Linked DNA regions of Homo sapiens: all the other regions are linked to region 3. The links are contacts of gene promoters, found by promoter capture Hi-C in human tissues and cell types (Jung and others, 2019). All regions are on one chromosome and are shown on one strand. Each heading gives the region's core, a stretch centred on a gene start or on the middle of the fragment in contact. The rest is flanking DNA. Distances are from core to core; before and after follow the strand shown. Region 1 overlaps FNDC3A (fibronectin type III domain containing 3A). Region 2 overlaps CAB39L (calcium binding protein 39 like). Region 3 holds the start of MLNR (motilin receptor).

Region 1 (3,304 bases), core at 767-3,266, 240 kb before region 3:
TTTCCTTATGTTATCCTAAAAAAAAAGTATGTAGAAATAAGTGCTTCTGTAATTGTTATTTTGTGGCCAGACTTCTAACAAGAGCCTAGAATAGGTCTCAGAATTAGGAAGTGAAAGACGAAAAGCCTTTGAGTCAGGCCTTACTACAGTGAAAATAGCTACACAGTGGCTTGATTTAGAATTTGTATAAGGTTAGGTGTATCAACTGCCTGTGCTGGTTTTACATTTTTAAAAACAGCTGGCAGGTTAAAAACCTTGTCTAGGATGCTGGTGGTCTGTAAGTGACAACAGAGGAGCAGGCAGTAGGGATCTTTGTTTTTAGAAGTAGTCTAGGATGAGTTAATAAAGGGACAAGCAGTTGGACATTCTGCAGTACTCCAGAAAGAATCACTCTGTTATGGAACAGTCTAATAATTGATATTTACATTGATGAGCTTGAGTCATCAAGAAAAGATTATATCATGTGCACATTAAGGCACGGAAGAAAGACCTAGAGATCTCTTTACAAATAATTAAGATTTTTTTAAGATAAGTTATGGTGATTTAAAGGATATAAGTATCAGCTGTTTTGAAAAGTAATTTACATGAAACATCTCTGAAGTTTCTAAATTTATAGATATCTATTTCTAAGGCAGTTCTGTTTCCTTCAGTATACTGTGGTTCATGTGCCATTACCAGGTGAATAGTGATGCCTCACGCTGTGGCTGCACAAATCAATTGGCTGGGGCAACTGTATTTTTTGTGGCATCAAGAGAGCAAGAATACATCATGAGAGCATTTTTTCATTAAGCAGGCATCAGTACATTCCATATATCAGGGTTAGTATTAGGTGCTGGAAAAAGTACAGATGTATAAGATGGGAAGCAACCTGGACAGAATCAGTGATGCTTCTTTCTTCCTGTTAAAAACATTAAAACCAACCAAACAAAATCATGAAACTTAACTTTTGTACTTTAATTTATTATTAGCATTTTTCATACTTAGTACATACAGTACCGTAATTTTAAGGCAATATAAAGCTTTTGATTTAAATAACAGCCTTCATAAATTGCTACTTAATACAATTTTTACTTTTTAAATTTTAGTTTAAGGAGAAATTCATGCCCTCCCTCTTTTTTTGTGAATGCTTGAAACAGCTTCACCATGCCAGCTGTTTCCATTTGCTAAACAAGAGGTAAATTAAAGTACCTTGGATGGTGACTCAAAAGTCTAGTTCTTAGTTCTAACTTCACCACTTATTACCTATATGATTTTGGGTTAGTTTCTTGCAATCTTGGTTTTCTAAGCATTAAAATAGAGAATAATATCTATCCTGTTTTCCTCAAAGATATTGTGAGAACCCACAGAGATGTTGGAAACTATAAAAGCATTAAAATACATACCATAAAAGTGCTTACATTAATGCTACTATATTGGAAGCAATGCAGCCTTTTTTTTTTTTTAAGACCAGAGTTCAAGCTTTATCCTCCAAAGTTCTGTAAACATAGTATGTTTCCAGTAAACATTCAGTTGAGCTCATTGAATTTTAGAACCTATACTTGCTTATTTTTAAAATCCTATACAAACCTGCCAGATATGTGGTGGTATTCTCATTTTACAGATGAACTATACTTCTGATTGACTTCCATATCTCTTTCTCCTTCACTTCTTGAGATCTCTTATGTGCTAGTTGCTAGAAATACAAAGTGCAATGTATACTTTGAAGTAAGCCTTGGTGTAAAAGTTACCTAAGTTTGGTAAATTAGATTGTGTATGTTAATCAGCCTCTATCAGAAATGCTGGGGGAAAAAAAAGTGTTGTATCTGTTTTCTTTCCTCAGAATCCATATTTTAATATATATTTGAACTTTTAAAAACTTAAATGATTTCGCTTCACTACTTCTTCAGTGAGGGATTACTTTAATTGGTTTATGTATATTCTAAACCGACAGACACATAATTTGGGAGGCAAAAAAATCTTACTTCTCTAGGGGTTCTAAACAGATATTTAAGTACACTTTAAATCACAGTTTAGACTTTTATTAGAAAGTAATTACGTGCTTTGCTTTATAGAAGTATATGCCATATACAGCAACTACTTTTGTTGAGCCATAACTTGAAGGATTAGTCATTTCATTTACTTTAAAATCAGTTTTTCTTAAGATTTGCTTAAATAAAAAGTGAAAATTCATAATTTGCGATTTTATGTTTAAATTTTCTAAATTTTTTTTGTTTTCTTAAGACAGACATTCTCAATTATGTCTTTGTTCTTATGACTTGATTTTTTTCCATGTAATATTTTCATTTGTAATATATACCTAAAAAAAATTTTTAGCATAGTACCTTCATAGTTTATGAAGTACCTTTTTGTTTCTTTAGTAACTATTAGGATCAGCTTTTCCTGATGCTTCAGATTGGTATTCCTGAAATAGTATGTTCGCATTTTTGTTTTAATCACTTGAACCTTACTAAAACTGGCCTAGTGTGTGTGACAGAGTAGCCTTTGGGTAAAATGTAGGGGCTACTGCCCCTCTAACCATCTTTTAGGCTGCTTCCAGGATATTTAAAAAACATGAATTTATTCAGATCATTCCCCAGTTTTAGAAATCGAAATCACAATACAATTCCTGCTGCATTAATTATAATTTCCTTTGTCTTTGAGAGTCCATACTCTGTTGATATCCTATTGTGTCATCATTTCTTACCTCTTTACAACTTTGTGATATAGTGTAGAGAACATATTTCTCATTAGGCAGCCACAGGATTGTTAGTTGACTTCTCATACTGGCTGTATAGAAACATGAGTGTGCTACTTTACCTGTATGAGCCTTGGTTCGTTCATTTTACAGTGTAGTAATAATAGTAGCTATCTCCTAATATAGACTGTACAAGAATTAAAAGATCCTATTTAACATGACAAGTAAAATGCTTGCCATAGGATATTTATATCTAGAACTTTGACAGACATACCTAATCATTGTCACTCAGGCATCCTGCATATCATTCATTTATTCATTTGCCTATCATTTGTTGAACATTTAAAATGTCCTAGATACTTAGAATATGAATGTTGAATGTCACAAAAATGAATGTCACACTCCCTCCCCTTTAGAAATTTACAGAATGGGATGAGAGATAATGATATGTAAATAAATACATATTTTTAAATAATTAAAATATCTTGTGTCTTTTCACTTGTGTGAGTCCTTCCTGTCTTTTAATATTTAAATGCAAAATGTTTCCATAATACCCACAGAATATCTGGGTTGTATATATCATACTGTAATGTATATATATTTTTTACTTGTCTAAATCAGCTATTCAAC
Region 2 (3,314 bases), core at 59-2,558, 210 kb after region 3:
TCTTTGCTGATGTTATCAAATCTTTGAAGCCTAATTCGTAATTCCTGTTAATACCGCAAGTGTCATACCTGTTCTCTTCCTATTTTCATAGAATTGCACTGAAAGGCTTAATAGTCATATAATCCAAATAGAAACTCAATCTGCAAGCCTTTCACATGAATTATTATCAAGACATGTTCCTCTATTCACTGTTTCTATTTTCTGGCTTTGTTTCTTTAAAAAGTGTTCTGTTAAGAAATAATTAACAATAAGCTGCACATATTTAAAGCGTACAACTCAAAAAGTTTGGACATATGTGTATTTACCTGTGAAACCATCATCACATCAAGATAGTGAACCTCCTAAATCTTTCCTGTCCCTTTGAATTCCTTTCCTCCCTTTCCTTGTTGTCTCCTCTGCATTTGATATGCTTCCATTGCAATACAGCACTTATATTTTTCAGAACTTTTAATAAGTGTAATATATTCTTTTTTGTCTGGCTTCTTTCACATAGCGTAATTGTTCTGGGGTTCATCCACTTTGTTACAAATATTGCTGAGGAGTATTCCATTGTATAGATATACCACAATTTTGTTATTCAATTACCTGTTAATAACTACTTTGGAAAACGGTTTTAGCAGCTTCTTAAAAAATAAAAAAAGGCTGGGCGTGGTGGCTCACGTCTGTAATCCCAGCACTTTGGGAGGTCAAGGCGGGTGGATCACTTGAGGTCAGGAGTTCCAGACCAGCCTGGCCACCATGGTGAAACCCCATTGCTACTAAAAATTAAAAAATTACCTGGGCTTGGTGGCACACTCCTGTAATCCCAGCTACTTATGAGGCTGTGGCAGGAGAATTGCTTGAACCTGGGAGGTGGAGGCTGCAGTGAGCCAAGATTGCACCACTGCACTCCAGCCTGGACAACAGAGTGAGACTCTGTCTTAAAAAAAAATAAAAAACAAAAAATAAAATAAAAAACAAAAAGTAAAAAAAATCTACCTACCATTCCATTCCCAGGAATTCACTCAAAAGAAAAGAATGCATATGTCCATATAAAAACTTATACATGAATATTCATAGTATCTTTATCTGTATTAGCTAAAAATTAGAAACAATTCATCTCCATCTACACAGCACAGATAAACAAATTGTGGTATATTCATAAAGTGACATACTACTTGGCAATAAAAAGGAATAAACTATTAATATACATTACAGACAATACAGATAAATCTCAGAATAACTAAGCTGAGTAAAAGCAGAACAAAAAAACGAGTATTTATTTCTTGCCAATTCTTTTTTTAATGTACCTGGTCACTTTATAGCCCCTTACTCTTTATTTATTTTATAATCCCTATTTTATTTATTGAACATATTAAACTATGTACATATATACATATTTAGACATACATACAAGCTCTTGATCTGTTGCCCAGGCTGGAGTGCAGTGGTGTGACCATGGCTCACTGCAGCCTTGACCCCCAGGCTCCAGCAATCCTCCCACCTCAGCCTCCTGAGGTACGCACCACCATACCCAGCTAATTCTATTTATTGTAGAGACAGGGTTTCACTATATTGCCCAGGCTGGTCTTGAACTCCCGGGCTCAAGCGATCCTCTTGCCTCAGTCTCCCAAAGTGCTGAGATTATAAGTGTGAGCTACTGCAACTGGCCATAAACATATTTATTTCATGTAATGTATATTTCTAATAATCGAAATCTCTATAGATCTCTTTCAGTTGTTTGCTGTTTCTGCTGACTCTTGCTCTTGGTGTTTTGATGTTTTCTCCCTTGTTACATTTTGTAATTTTAAAAAATGTGTATGAGCTTATTTGTTAGAATTTTAACTACAATTATTTGATGAATGCATTGATCGTACATTCCTCCATGGAGGATTTTTTTATTGTTCTTACAAGGTACCTGAGAGTATTACAGACTGAGGTCCAATTTAAATTAAAATCCTCCACTTGTGGAGTTTTAGAAACTGTAAAAATTGTGTAAATTAAGGCCCCAAATTCAAGTGAATGTGAGCTGATAACCAAGAATTATTAGGGAAGATTTTAAGTCTACCCAGAACTGAATATCTTTGCAAGATGGTCTCTGACCAGGCTTCTTACCTTTATATGGGACCCAGGGATCTTTTTCTCTAGTCCTCATCCTGCTCCTTACACAAAGCTTCAATGCCAACAGAAATCCATGGATGCCCCCAAAGTATTCAATGACTTCAGCACCTGCTTATCTCACAGGATATATTATACTTGTTTTGTTTCTAGCCCCAGAAAGTTTCCCTTATTTTCTTAATGGGCTCATCCATTCATGTTAAAGGATATTTTTTATACTGAATCTAGTACTTTACATGTTTGGTGGAGGGAGGAATTCAGGCTCTCTAGTCTATCATATTGCTACAAATCAGTCTACTATTTCTGCAACTGCTTTATAACATTTAAATACAATATTATATTTATTCCTGATACATTTTATTTTGGTATGTTGAGCATAGTCTACACGTCTGTCGAGAGCACTTAAAATCTTGATTGAGTCATCATACTAGCTTACCTTAGAAGTTGTATATCATTTGCAAATTTGTTTGAACCTTCTTAGCTTTCACCAAAGTCACTGATCACCACAGCTTCTGACAAAAAGAAAAGCTTTAAAATTAATTTTTAAAGTCTTTATAGTAAATCCAACATATTTTCTTATTGCTTTCAGGTATACAGAATTACAAATTAAATTTCCATCATAATCAAATACTAATACATCAAATTAAAACAGGTAAATTTTCATATCCCAATAACTCAAGTGGCAGACCTTTCAAACAGTAGTATTGAACTGAATGAAAAATATATTTATCATCAAGGGAAACCAGTGGAAACATAAAGCGTTAGTTTGGGTAAAGGGCGCTCTAGTACCTCTGAAATCTCCAACAGCCCCCATCTTCAAAAGGAAGAAACACAATTTATTTAAACTAGTATCTTAAAGGTCAGTGTTTACAAAAAGGCTGTGGGAAGGCTTTCCTGACTGAAGGATGCTTTCTTCCCCTTAGATGTTCAGTAAAATTTTAGCTCTTTCATATTTCTATTGTTTCCTAGCACAAAACATAGAAGAGCACTGAAGGGTCATAAAGGGAAGCTTTGAAGGGTTTCTTGCTTTTAACAACATCATGAAAACCCATGCCTGCTAGATTTTTTCTTTTCTACTCCACCACTTTTAGTTCGCACCTTTACTAATTTCAGTCACCAGCGACAATTTCTGTAAAATCTATCTCCATCACAAGAGTGTGTATGCGTGTGCTTGTTTCCCCATCAGAAATAAGAGAAAACTTACGCTTCTCTCCTTT
Region 3 (3,545 bases), core at 368-2,867:
TTTTAGGACCGCTGGAAACAGCAGCGATGAGGGAGGCGACAGGTGTCCCTCCTCCAAGCTCACAGTCTGCATGTGAGAGAGAACTGCAGGAGAAGCTTGCCCTAGGCAAAGCCAGGTGTCAGGTCCAGAATCGAGACTCCAGAGAAGAGGTTGAGGATTTAAGCCACTGAGGGGGTGGAGCTGGGCAGTGAGTAGGACGTCAGGCTTGCAAGCTCTGGGATTAGGCCGACCAGAGCCCATATCCCAGTCCCGCCTCTTACTGCCTGCTTGATCTCAAGCAAGACCGCTTTGTTCATGGGCGAAAGGAGCGCCCCGGGCCATGAGGATTAAATGGAGAGCACAGGGCCAGATCCATCTAAATTCTCAGTAAGTGTTAGCTATTGTTATTAAGACCACACCGAACAGACTGAACATCCGTTTTAGCCCCTTTCCCCAATTTTCGTTCTTTCCGGTGTTGACAAATCCTCTAGTTTTTTAAGTTTATAAAACATGTTGTACATAAGAATGACATATCACATGTGAAAGTACTCTAGTGTCCACGTAAATATTTGTCTTGTTCTTTATAATAAGTAAACATGCTCACGGATCCTTGAAATTATCTGGTCACTGCCGGGCGCGGTGGCTCACGCCTGTAATCCCAGCACTTTGGGAGGTCGAGGCGGGTGGACCACCTGGGGTCAGGAGTTCGAGACCAGGCTGGCCAACATGGCGAAACCCTGACTACACAAAAAACACAAAATTTAGCCGGGGCTTGGGCGCTCCTGTGCTCCCAGCTACTCAGGAGGCTGAGGTGGGAGGACTGCTTGAGCCTGGGAGGTCGAGGCTGCAGTGAGCTGTGATCGCGCCACTTAAACTCCAGCCTGGACGACAGTGAGACCCTGTCTCAAGAAGAAAAAAAGAAAGAAAGAAAGAAAAAAAGAAAAAAAAGAAATTATTTGGTCAATTATATGGTCAGCTCCCTCCACCACTCGCGAATTTACAGAAGAGGAGAACTGGGCTGGGCGAGACCAGGACTAGCCCAAGATTACACAAGTTACTCGGTTGTAGAGCCAGGATTAGACAGGAGAGGCTCTAGATTCTGGTCTAGACTCCCCTCCTATTATTTAGCATTATGGCTTCCTGAGGATTACCATGAGCCCTCCTCCACCGTCAAGCGGCAGCTACCAGCCACCAGACCAGATCCCTTCGAAGGTGCCCGGAGTACCAGACTGACAAAAGCGCCCGTACAGTGCTCAGTCCTGTAACCAAAGCTGTCTAGGGTGCAGACATCGCTCACCGGACCGGGTAGGGCTCGTGCGCTAAGGGCGCCGGGTATTCCAGTTAGTGGAGAGGGAAGCGCCCTGGAACTGCATGGGCCCGGGAGAGGGCGCGGGAGCGGAGCAGGGCCGGGCCGGGGCGGGCCGCGGCCGTGGGCGGAGACTGCGCGCAGCTAGCTCGGGAGCGCCTCGGAGCCCACCCCGCAGAGCCGCTTCTCGCGCCCCGCAGCGCAGCGCAGCGCTCCGCCGTCTGACCTGCCGCGCCCGCAGCGTGCGGGCTGGGAAAGGAGGCGCTCACCGAGAGGGACCACGCGCCAGGCTCCCAGCCCGACCCGGGACGCGGCGGCCGCGCGGAGCACCCATGGGCAGCCCCTGGAACGGCAGCGACGGCCCCGAGGGGGCGCGGGAGCCGCCGTGGCCCGCGCTGCCGCCTTGCGACGAGCGCCGCTGCTCGCCCTTTCCCCTGGGGGCGCTGGTGCCGGTGACCGCTGTGTGCCTGTGCCTGTTCGTCGTCGGGGTGAGCGGCAACGTGGTGACCGTGATGCTGATCGGGCGCTACCGGGACATGCGGACCACCACCAACTTGTACCTGGGCAGCATGGCCGTGTCCGACCTACTCATCCTGCTCGGGCTGCCGTTCGACCTGTACCGCCTCTGGCGCTCGCGGCCCTGGGTGTTCGGGCCGCTGCTCTGCCGCCTGTCCCTCTACGTGGGCGAGGGCTGCACCTACGCCACGCTGCTGCACATGACCGCGCTCAGCGTCGAGCGCTACCTGGCCATCTGCCGCCCGCTCCGCGCCCGCGTCTTGGTCACCCGGCGCCGCGTCCGCGCGCTCATCGCTGTGCTCTGGGCCGTGGCGCTGCTCTCTGCCGGTCCCTTCTTGTTCCTGGTGGGCGTCGAGCAGGACCCCGGCATCTCCGTAGTCCCGGGCCTCAATGGCACCGCGCGGATCGCCTCCTCGCCTCTCGCCTCGTCGCCGCCTCTCTGGCTCTCGCGGGCGCCACCGCCGTCCCCGCCGTCGGGGCCCGAGACCGCGGAGGCCGCGGCGCTGTTCAGCCGCGAATGCCGGCCGAGCCCCGCGCAGCTGGGCGCGCTGCGTGTCATGCTGTGGGTCACCACCGCCTACTTCTTCCTGCCCTTTCTGTGCCTCAGCATCCTCTACGGGCTCATCGGGCGGGAGCTGTGGAGCAGCCGGCGGCCGCTGCGAGGCCCGGCCGCCTCGGGGCGGGAGAGAGGCCACCGGCAGACCGTCCGCGTCCTGCGTAAGTGGAGCCGCCGTGGTTCCAAAGACGCCTGCCTGCAGTCCGCCCCGCCGGGGACCGCGCAAACGCTGGGTCCCCTTCCCCTGCTCGCCCAGCTCTGGGCGCCGCTTCCAGCTCCCTTTCCTATTTCGATTCCAGCCTCCACCCGCCGGTACTTCCCATCCCCCGAGAAAACCATGTCCTGTCCCCCAGGAGCTCTGGGGGACCCCAGGGCGCTTTGAGGGTGGGATCCCCGGATCCGATTCAGTAACCAGCAGTGCTTTTCCAGAGCCTCTGAGACCAGAAAGGAGAGTTGGTAATTCTTAATCCAACCACCTGTTAGATGCCACAGATGAGGAGTCCTCACAGTGCTCTTGAGAAGACGAGGGAGATTTCATTAAGCTAAAATTTTTTATTTAATGTTAAGTGATGCTGAAGGCTAAAGTAAACCTTGCTCGTATCAAAAAGTAAAGATTGTGCAGACCTGTTGTAGAATTCTTTTCAACAGAGAACAGAAAACTTGTCTCCGAAGTGGGTTTGTGGAAGGAAGCCTGCCAAGGCGGCTTGTTCAGAGAAATTGCTCCTTCTGGTTTATGTCCAGCCTTGATAACACATATGGGAGCCTACTATGCAGTTTTAAAGCAAGTATCCATGCAGCCTGCAGCCTGGTCATTTTTTCTGGGGTGAGGATCTGCCTAGGTAGAAGTTTTCTCTAATTTATTTTGCTGTTACTTGTTATTGCAGATGGTTCCTTGTCGGGGTGGGGGGTTTATTTGCTTCCCAATGCTTTTGTTAATCCCGGTGCTGTGTCTTATGTTGCAGTGGTGGTGGTTCTGGCATTTATAATTTGCTGGTTGCCCTTCCACGTTGGCAGAATCATTTACATAAACACGGAAGATTCGCGGATGATGTACTTCTCTCAGTACTTTAACATCGTCGCTCTGCAACTTTTCTATCTGAGCGCATCTATCAACCCAATCCTCTACAACCTCATTTCAAAGAAGTACAGAGCGGCGGCCTTTAAACTGCTGCTCGCAAGGAAGTCCAG

Evidence for each region. The method cuts DNA at HindIII sites, captures the fragments that hold promoters and counts their contacts. A contact is called where the count stands out against the background at its distance.
Region 1: a contact is called between a fragment that was not itself captured here and the fragment with the promoter of MLNR in region 3, in 2 of the 25 tissues and cell types used here (lymphoblastoid cells and spleen).
Region 2: a fragment that was not itself captured here is called in contact with the fragment with the promoter of MLNR in region 3 in 1 of the 25 tissues and cell types used here (aorta).

Annotation. Positions count from the first base shown.
Region 1 is chr13:48,980,052-48,983,355 of GRCh38, forward strand. All of the region lies in intron 1 of FNDC3A (fibronectin type III domain containing 3A), which reads left to right. Among named protein-coding and RNA genes, the nearest start is that of FNDC3A, 5.8 kb to the left of the region's middle. The HindIII fragment of the contact is 3,386 bases long and covers 324-3,304 here.
Region 2 is chr13:49,430,785-49,434,098 of GRCh38, forward strand. CAB39L (calcium binding protein 39 like) reads right to left here. Exons shown (of 11, transcript NM_001079670.3): 2 at 3,302-3,314; 3 at 2,534-2,609. Among named protein-coding and RNA genes, the nearest start is that of CAB39L, 12 kb to the right of the region's middle. The HindIII fragment of the contact is 3,113 bases long and covers 1-2,865 here.
Region 3 is chr13:49,218,721-49,222,265 of GRCh38, forward strand. It overlaps MLNR (motilin receptor), which reads left to right and starts at 1,618. Exons shown (of 2, transcript NM_001507.1): 1 at 1,618-2,518; 2 at 3,320-3,545. The coding sequence starts at 1,618. RefSeq lists silencers at 1,048-1,304, 1,241-1,500, 1,571-1,650. The HindIII fragment of the contact is 10,157 bases long and covers 1-3,545 here.